Regions from separate parts of the Homo sapiens genome. Here all the other regions are linked to region 3. The links are contacts of gene promoters, found by promoter capture Hi-C in blood cells and fetal thymus (Javierre and others, 2016). All regions are on one chromosome and are shown on one strand. The core of a region is centred on a gene start or on the middle of the fragment in contact, and the rest is flanking DNA. Distances in the headings are between cores, read along the strand shown. Region 1 holds the start of KRT3 (keratin 3). Region 2 has its middle 7.2 kb from the start of MIR9898. Region 3 holds the start of KRT6B (keratin 6B).

Evidence for each region. Contacts are between HindIII fragments. The CHiCAGO score rates a contact against its expected background, and 5 or more counts as called.
Region 1: the fragment with the promoter of KRT3 here is called in contact with the fragment with the promoter of KRT6B in region 3 in 2 of 17 cell types (endothelial precursors and total CD8 T cells); the score reaches 6.4 in endothelial precursors.
Region 2: a fragment that was not itself captured here is called in contact with the fragment with the promoter of KRT6B in region 3 in 1 of 17 cell types (M0 macrophages); the score reaches 5.1 in M0 macrophages.

What each region holds. Positions count from the first base shown.
Region 1 is chr12:52,794,727-52,797,426 of GRCh38, forward strand. KRT3 (keratin 3) reads right to left here and starts at 1,391. Exons shown (of 9, transcript NM_057088.3): 1 at 672-1,391. The coding sequence starts at 1,316. The HindIII fragment of the contact is 1,337 bases long and covers 661-1,997 here.
Region 2 is chr12:52,890,404-52,893,103 of GRCh38, forward strand. No RefSeq gene overlaps it. Among named protein-coding and RNA genes, the nearest start is that of MIR9898, 7.2 kb to the right of the region's middle. The HindIII fragment of the contact is 2,470 bases long and covers 126-2,595 here.
Region 3 is chr12:52,450,823-52,453,522 of GRCh38, forward strand. It overlaps KRT6B (keratin 6B), which reads right to left and starts at 1,324. Exons shown (of 9, transcript NM_005555.4): 1 at 717-1,324. The coding sequence starts at 1,256. The HindIII fragment of the contact is 8,192 bases long and covers 1-2,307 here.

The sequences.
Region 1 (2,700 bases), core at 141-2,640, 340 kb after region 3:
AGTGATGCTGGGAAGCTGGGAAGCAACACTGGCTGGCATGCCACAGTTAGCATGACAACACCTCTCTTGGGCCTGGAGGGGAGGCAGCCCCATGAGAACTGTCCTGGTCTGGAGAAGCTCACCGAGCACTCTTGTCTTCCTGACTAGGCTGAGTAGGAGTGCAAAGTCACTCATTTCTCTGCGCTCCCTTGGGACTAACTAAGGTTCTTATGCTCTTAATCCCTGCTCCAGGTAATCAGCCTCCTCTGCCTGGCACAGCAATATGAGGGGGAAAGGGCTTCCTGGAAAGCCTCAGAGGGCAGCTTGTATTTGAAAAGCCTCCCATTCTTGGTGGACCCTTCGCTGATGGTGGCTGTGGCCCTTGCCTTGGGCTGCCTGCCCTGCCAGCCTGGGCCTCAATGAGGCAATGACTGGAAACTTCAGCAGGGGTTCCCACAAACAGGATGTGTGGTGCTCAGGTCCAAATAGGGGACTGTTTTCTTTCTACACCTCCCCTCACTTGACCATGTAGACAAACTCCTCAACCCTGGATATCTTCCCAGACCCTAGAGTTCCACCTAACTCCTCACCCTCCAGTCTGGCCTATCCAAGAAACATTTAAACACTGTGTCCCAAAGGTCAAATTCAAAGTCCCCAGCCCAGGAAGGGATGACCAGTCAAAGCTTCATTACCTTGTCAATGAAGGAGGCAAACTTGTTGTTGAGGGTCTTGATCTGTTCCCGCTCCTGGGCCTTTACTTGCCCAATCTGGGGGTCGATCTCCACATTGAGGGGCTGCAGGAGACTCTGGTTGATAGTCACTTCCTGAATTCCCCCAGGAAAGCCCCCAGGGCCAAAGCCACCAGGACTGCCCAAGCTGCCAGGCCCACCAAAGCCACCAGACCCACCAAAGCCACCAGGACCACCAAAGCCACCAGCCCCTCCAAAGCCACCAGCCCCTCCAAAGCCACCAGCTCCACCAAAGCCACCTCCCATTCCTCTGCCACCACCAAAGCCACCACCAAAGCCACCTCCATAGCCGCTCCCAAAGCCACCTCCATAGCCACCTGCAAAGGCACAGCTGCTCCGCCCTCCCCCAAAGCCTCCAGCCCGGGAGCCGCCAGCTGCCACGCTGATGGAGATGCTCTTGTTGCCGCCCAGGTTGTAGAGGCTGCGACTGCCAAAGCCACCTGCTCCGCTCCGGAAGCCATAGGCCCCTCCGCCAGCTCCCCCAGAGTGGGCCACACAGCTCATCCTGCTGCTGCCGGAGACCACAGCAGAGCGGCCGGAGAAACCCTGGCTCCCGCCACCAGATGTCTTGCTGGCTTGTCTGCTCATGGTAAGGAGCTTGGCGAAGAGAAGAGTGTAAGTTAAGCAGGGACACTGAGAGTCAGAGGAAGAGGGATGGGAAATGAAGACCTGTGCAAAATAAATCCCTTTATATACATTTGAGGAGGTTGTTGGGCTCAAACGAAGGAGAGATAATTAATCCCAAATATTCATGGGCTGGGTTTGCCTCCAAGGCAATAAGTTTGTTCCAGGCTACCAAACACACCTTGAAAATAAGCTGAAATGGTAAAAGTGCTAAGGTGGCAGGCTTACCTGGTGAGGGGGTGGTGCCTGGTGTTGCCCCATGTTTGGGCATGGCCTCCTCCTAGCTCTGTCTGACAGGACCCAGGAGGCACGCTCACCTGCATCAGGTGCTCAGCAGCCATCCCTCTGCCTATTAGCTGCACCTGGGCCCTGCAGAGCGGTGCCCAGCTCTGGAGAGGATAGAGTGGAGGAGGTGTGGGGAGGTTCTGCTTCTCTGAGTAGTGGAGACAGTGGAGCCCACTCACAGCTCTGGGAAAGTATCTTAATGGAAGGAGTGATGCAGGTCTCTCCACAATGACTGAGTGCACAGTATGTGCCCAGCTCTACGCTGGCCTTTGGGATGAAGCGCTGACCTCTCCTTCTCCCTTCTTGGAAAAAAGCCCAGAACTATCACAAATCTGCCTCCTGGGTTCTCCCTGTACCCCAAGCTTTAGTTCAGGAGGTAGTGACCTTTTGGTTTATGACTATCTTTGGAGAAAAAGTCAAGTTAACACCTATGTATGTTGAGCAGACACTGGCAAAATCCAACATGCCTAATGTTTGTTTCTCTTTAAAACTTCCCAGAGAAATTATACACTATTACACATCTTGGGGTTTATCTATGGCTTCCTTTCTTGCTCCCCACATTTTGGCCTTTCTCTGGTTTTAGCTTAAGGCCTAGGGAACAAGAAATTCAAATGTCAAGTCAACAACAAATTCAGCAAATATTTACAGACTGCCAAATGTGTGCCAGGCCCTTTGCAAAACTCTGGAGACCCAGTCATGGACAAGACACACAGGGCCCCTGTGGGACCATTTTCTGTTTGAGAGATGTGCTCCTGAGAGTCGCCCATGCCCCCTCACAAACCCCAGAAAGCCAGATCTGGCAGAGCCGGCAGCACTATGGAATATGTCTGACTCCGAAAGCCTGAAACTCTCCCTGTCTGGGGTTGTTCAGAGGCTTATGACTGGGCTTGGTTTGTCCAAAAGAAAGCCATCCTGCACACTCTGGAGCTGGCCAAGTTAGCTGCTTATCTCTCCAGGACAGGCCTTTTTTGTTCTGTCTGCTGCACATTGGGCCCTTCTAAGGGTGTGGTCTGTATGGCCCTGGCAGGAGCCTCCTTAGAATTGGGGGAAAGGATAGAGACTT
Region 2 (2,700 bases), core at 111-2,610, 440 kb after region 3:
TCATAGAAACACGCCACTCAGTTTGTGGTGTCTAGAAGACTTTCTTGTCTTGTGGTGTCATAAAACTTTTTGTCTTGTCTTGTGGTGTCAGAAGACTTTCTTGGGGAAGCTGCGTTTGAGCGGAAAGCTTGGGAGTGACTAGGAAAGGCAGGGTGTTCCAAGCAGGGGGCCAGCCATGCAATGCCCTGAGCAGAAGCAAATTCCATGTAGGCTATGCCCTGAAAAGCCTGCACCACTGCATCAGAGAGCAAGGGACAGAGTGGCCAGGATGAGGCCTCAGAGGAGGAAGAGTAGGCACAGCCTGTGGGCCAAGTCAAGATTTAGGGCTTTATTCTGGGTGTCAAAAGTAAAGGGTTTTCCCATCATTCTGAGCAAACTATTGCAAGGGCAGAAAACCAAACACCGCATGTTCTCACTCATAGGTGGGAATTGAACAATGAGAACACTTAGACACAGGGTGGGGAACATCACACACCAGGGCCTGTCGTGGGGTGGGGGTAGAGGGGAGGGATAGCATTAGGAGATATACCTAATGTAAATGAAGAGTTAACGAGTTAACGGGTGCAGCACACCAACATGGCACATGTATACATATGTAACAAACCTGCATGTTGTGCACATGTACCCTAGAACTTAAAGTATAATAAAAAATAAAGAAAGAAAAGAAAAAAATAAAATAAAAATAAAGGGTTTTCCATATAAGGAAGTAACTGAATCTGATTCATATTTTTGAGAATGCACTCTGATTTTGGGGGCAGTGAACTATTCTGTATGGTACTGTAATGGTGGCTACATGGCCCCCACAGAATGTCCACACTAAGAGTTAACTCTAATGTGAACTATGGACTGTGGGTAATAATGATGTGTCAATGTAGGTTCATCAATCGTAACAAATGTATCCCTCTGAGGTGGGATGTTGATGATGTTGTAACAAATGTAGCCCTCTGGTGTGGGATGCAGGTGTAGGGGCAGAATGTGTATGAGAACCCTCTACCTCCTGCTCGATTTTGCTATGAACCTAAAATTGCTCTTTTTTTCTTTTTTTTTTTTTTTTTTTTTTTTGAGACGGAGTCTTTCTCTGTCGCCCAGGCTGGAGTGCAGTGGCATGATCTCAGTTCACTGCAAGCTCTGCCTCCTGGGTTCACACCATTCTCCTGCCTCAGCCTCTCGAGTAGCTGGGACTACAGGCGCCTGCCACCACACCCAGATAATTTTTTTGTATTTTTTAGTAGAGACGGGGTTTCACCATGTTAGCCAGGATGGTCTCGATCTCCTGACCTCGTGATCCACCCGCCTCAGCCTCCCAAAGTGCTGGGATTACAGGCATGAGCCACAGCGCCTAGCTAAAACTGTTCTTAAAAAATAAGTCTACTAAAAAAAAGTGCACTCTGGCAAGGGGCCCAAGTGAACCTTCTGTGATATAGGAAATGTTCTACATTACAGGTGTGAACATAAGTTAAAACTCATCAGGCGCCGGGCACGGTGGCTCACGCCTGTAATCCCAGCACTTTGGGAGGCTGAGGCGGGTGGATCACCTGAGGTCGGGAGTTGCCTGACCAACACGGAGAAACCCCGTCTCTACTAAAAATACAAAATTAGCCCGGCGTGGTGGCGCATGCCTGTAGTCCCAGCTACTCAGGAGGCTGAGGCGGGAGAATCGCTTGAACCTGGGCAGCGGAGGTTGCAGTGAGCCGAGATCGTGCCATTGCACTTCAGCCTGGGCAACAAGAGTGAAACTCCATCTCAAAAAAAATAAATAAAAATAAAAATAAAAAAACTCATCAGGTTGTACATTCCCCATTAAAGCACATTTTGCATTTTATTGTATGTACAATATGCCTCAGCAAGGAGGAAACAAAGGGACTTGTGATTGGCCAAGGCTGGCCCATTGTGAACCCTGTGTGCCTGGACAGAGGTCCTGTGATCTTAGGAGGAACAGTTCCTGAAAAGAAGTGGGGCGTGGCAGGAGTGGAGGTGGGGGAGCTTTGCATTACTAGAAGAAGGGGGAAGGGGTCCTGGCTAGACAAAGCAACTATGCCCACCACAATGTGTAAAAGGGCAGCGCGGAGAGTGAACTAGGGGGCCACCCACCATGCTGGTATCCTTCCCTGCCTTCCTTTCCTTGCAGTGGTGCTTCCTCTTCCTTTCCCAACAGGTAGAATCTATGATATATAATTACGTAGGGACATGCATGCACACATTTCTATCTATCCTTCATGAAGGGTATGTACTGTCCGCATTGTCACATGCCTTGCTTTAACATTCACTCCTCCATTCCCACCACCTTACACTCCAGTCAGCCTGGCCCTCGGTCCTTAGCCCACCTTCAGATCCCCCTACTACAGGGGAGCTCCTAGACCACCTTAGCCCAGATCAGCGGGCAGGCAGAGCAAAACCTTGGAATTAAAATATCTTCAGAAGAGTCCACAAATGCTTGGAAGACTCATCATTTTAATCCTGGGTGGTTGGGTCGGGAAAGGCAGGGTGGAGGGAAGTGGGGGATAATGGCTGGCTCATCTGGAATAGTCAAACAGGAACCTTCTTCTACACATGTAAATTTTCTAAAAAACTAAAATTCAGTCCCATAGGAAATCAAGCTTTAAAAACAAAAAGTCTACTAAAATTTAAATGTGCACACATTTTGCTTCAGCAATTCCACTTGTAGGAATTATTAAGATATCCTCACCATTGTCATAGCAA
Region 3 (2,700 bases), core at 74-2,573:
ACTGAGGTGTTCTCGCACTGTAAGCTATTGATCATCAGTGAGTTTCAACATTTCTTCTTTTCTTTTTCCAAGCACAATCACAAATCTAGTTTAAAAATACTAATTACCTGATATATTGTACACAGTTTTTTTTACCGAGAGGATCTTAGTTAGGAGGGATATTAGATGTTGACTCATGATTACATTTCAGTCTACTTTCCCATTTAGTGTCTCCTCTCAAATATTCTGATGTTATGGTCATTCTCTGTTTTTAAAATTAATTAGCATTTATCCATGTTTTACAGTTGTTTCTATGTCCCTTTTTTTCTTAATCCAGCCAGATTATCTTTTCCTTTTCTTTCTAAATCTTTTTCCTCTTACCCAGACCCCAGAGTGTAATTTACCAGCCCATATACTCCTGGCATTTGCTTTGTAATCTCTTAAACACTTCAGAGGGGAGAATTAACCTACTCCACTCTCTGATGGCCTCATCTGTGCTTCAGGGTTATGAAAAGTTATGGCTCTCCCTAGGCAGGAGTGAGGGCCACTCCAGATATCCCATGGGGGAGTGATGCCCATCTGTGCTGCCTCCTGTGCACCGAGAGCCACCTGCACTCTCTGCAGAGCTGGGCTGAGTCCCCTTCTCCCTCCCTCCTAGGGTCTCTCCGGCAGGAAGGTGTTGCTCTTCTGGTCTGGGGACCCTGAAGTGCCCGATGGAGGGCATGGCACTGGCTCACCTTGTCGATGAAGGAGGCAAACTTGTTGTTGAGGGTCTTGATCTGCTCACGCTCCTCGGCCCGCACCCGCTGGATGGCGGGGTCAATTTGCAGGTTGAGGGGAGTCAGGAGACTCTGGTTGACAGTGACCTCTTGGATGCCTCCAGGGGGGCACACAGGGAAGCCAGGGCCCCCAAAGCCACCAGCAAGGCCGGCTCCACCACCCAGACCAAAGCCAATGCCGGCTCCACCACCGAAACCAAATCCACTCCCGGCGCCACCAAAGCCATAGCTGCCTCCGGCTCTGCTGCCATAGCCGCCACTGATGGCACAGCTGCCCCCTCCAATGGAGATCCTCTTGGAGCCCCCCAGGCCATACAGACTGCGGCTGCCAAAGCCAGCTCCTCCACATGCGCCACCCAGGCCACCACTGCCCCTGGAGCGGGACACGGAGATGCTGCTGAAGCCAGAGCGGCTGACCCCAGGGAGCCTGGCTGAGTTGGCACTGAAACCCCGGCGGCTGCTGCTGTGGCTCCTGATGGTGGTGGATGTGCTGGCCATGGTTCCAGGAGATGAGAGGGCTTAGGAGAGTGTGAGAGGCTGGAGGCGAGAGGGAGGAGAAGCAGGACGAGGAATCGGACTCCAGTAGCAGCTTATATATGGAGAGCATGGGCTGGGCCCAGTCCTGGAAGGTGAGCTTGCAGGTTGGGAAGGGCTGGGCTTTACAAATAGTGAGATCACACCTGCATTATTACAAAAGTTATGAAATACCGAGATTGCATTTTTCGCTTCCTTTAGTCAGGCAAAATGTTCCTGCCTCCAGCTTTGACTTGAGATCTCAGCACAATAAGAGTATTCTCAATTCATGAAGTTGGAATTAGTCACTGTCTTCAGCAAAGGTTCTGCATGCTAGGCTGTTTATCGACATGCCCTGAGTGCCCTCCTCTTCCCAGTCTGACTTTCTTCCAGCCTTGCTGTTGGAGATCACAGGCACTGTATTGTGAATTCCTTAACAGAAATATTACAATTTCCCCATAATTGTTTCACCTTTTAGGTGCAATTTTAAACAGGTAGAGAAGCAGAACACTGCAATGGGCCTGTATATACCTGTCACCTGCTTCCATGATGATCATCTCATGGCCAGCCTGATTTCTTTCATACTTCAACCCTATTTCCTCTTCCATTCTAGATTGTTTGAAAGGAAATTCCAGAAGTCATATTATGTCTTCAATCAATAATTCAATATTAATATCTAAATAATAGGTCCTTTAAAAAATCAAAACACTATTTTTATATCTTAAAAATTTACATACTAATTAAAATGAACAAGTGTCTATTTAGTCTTCAAGCAGTCCTATTTTTGATATATATTTCTTATATTTTGGTGTCCCAATCAGAGTCAAAATAAGCTCTATAAACGTTGTATTTGAGTGATATATCCTTTAAATCATTGAAATTTAAAAATCTCCCTTCATTTCTTACTTTTATTTGTTAAATAAAACAGGTTAACTGTTCATTGTACTTTTTCATTCTTGGGATTTTTCTAATTGCATACCCCTATTGTTTCCTTTAATATGAGACTCTAACCTTCATATTTCATATTAAAATTAGAAGCTTATTAAGATTCTGTCTATATTTAAACATTCTAGAAGTAAATGTAGTAGATTGCCCATTTAAATTTTGAATAGTACTATTTGCACAATTATTTACATGTTTACAAATTGAATACATGATACATGTTTTAAAAAATTTTTTGTAAAACATGCTAAACAACAAAATAATATAGCTCAAGGCCATTCCCCAGTTACCCAATTCCTATCTATGGAGGAAGTAATGTTAGCAGTTCCTTGTGTATCCTTGTATCTTTACTTGGATATTTTCCTGTGCTTTTCCTGGGCCATGGGTGACATGTCTGTGCATATGTGTTTGTGTCAACGTGTGTTTGTATGGGTGAGGAAGAGGTGGAGGGAGTTGGCATATATAGAGAGGGAGCCTGCATTGTAGA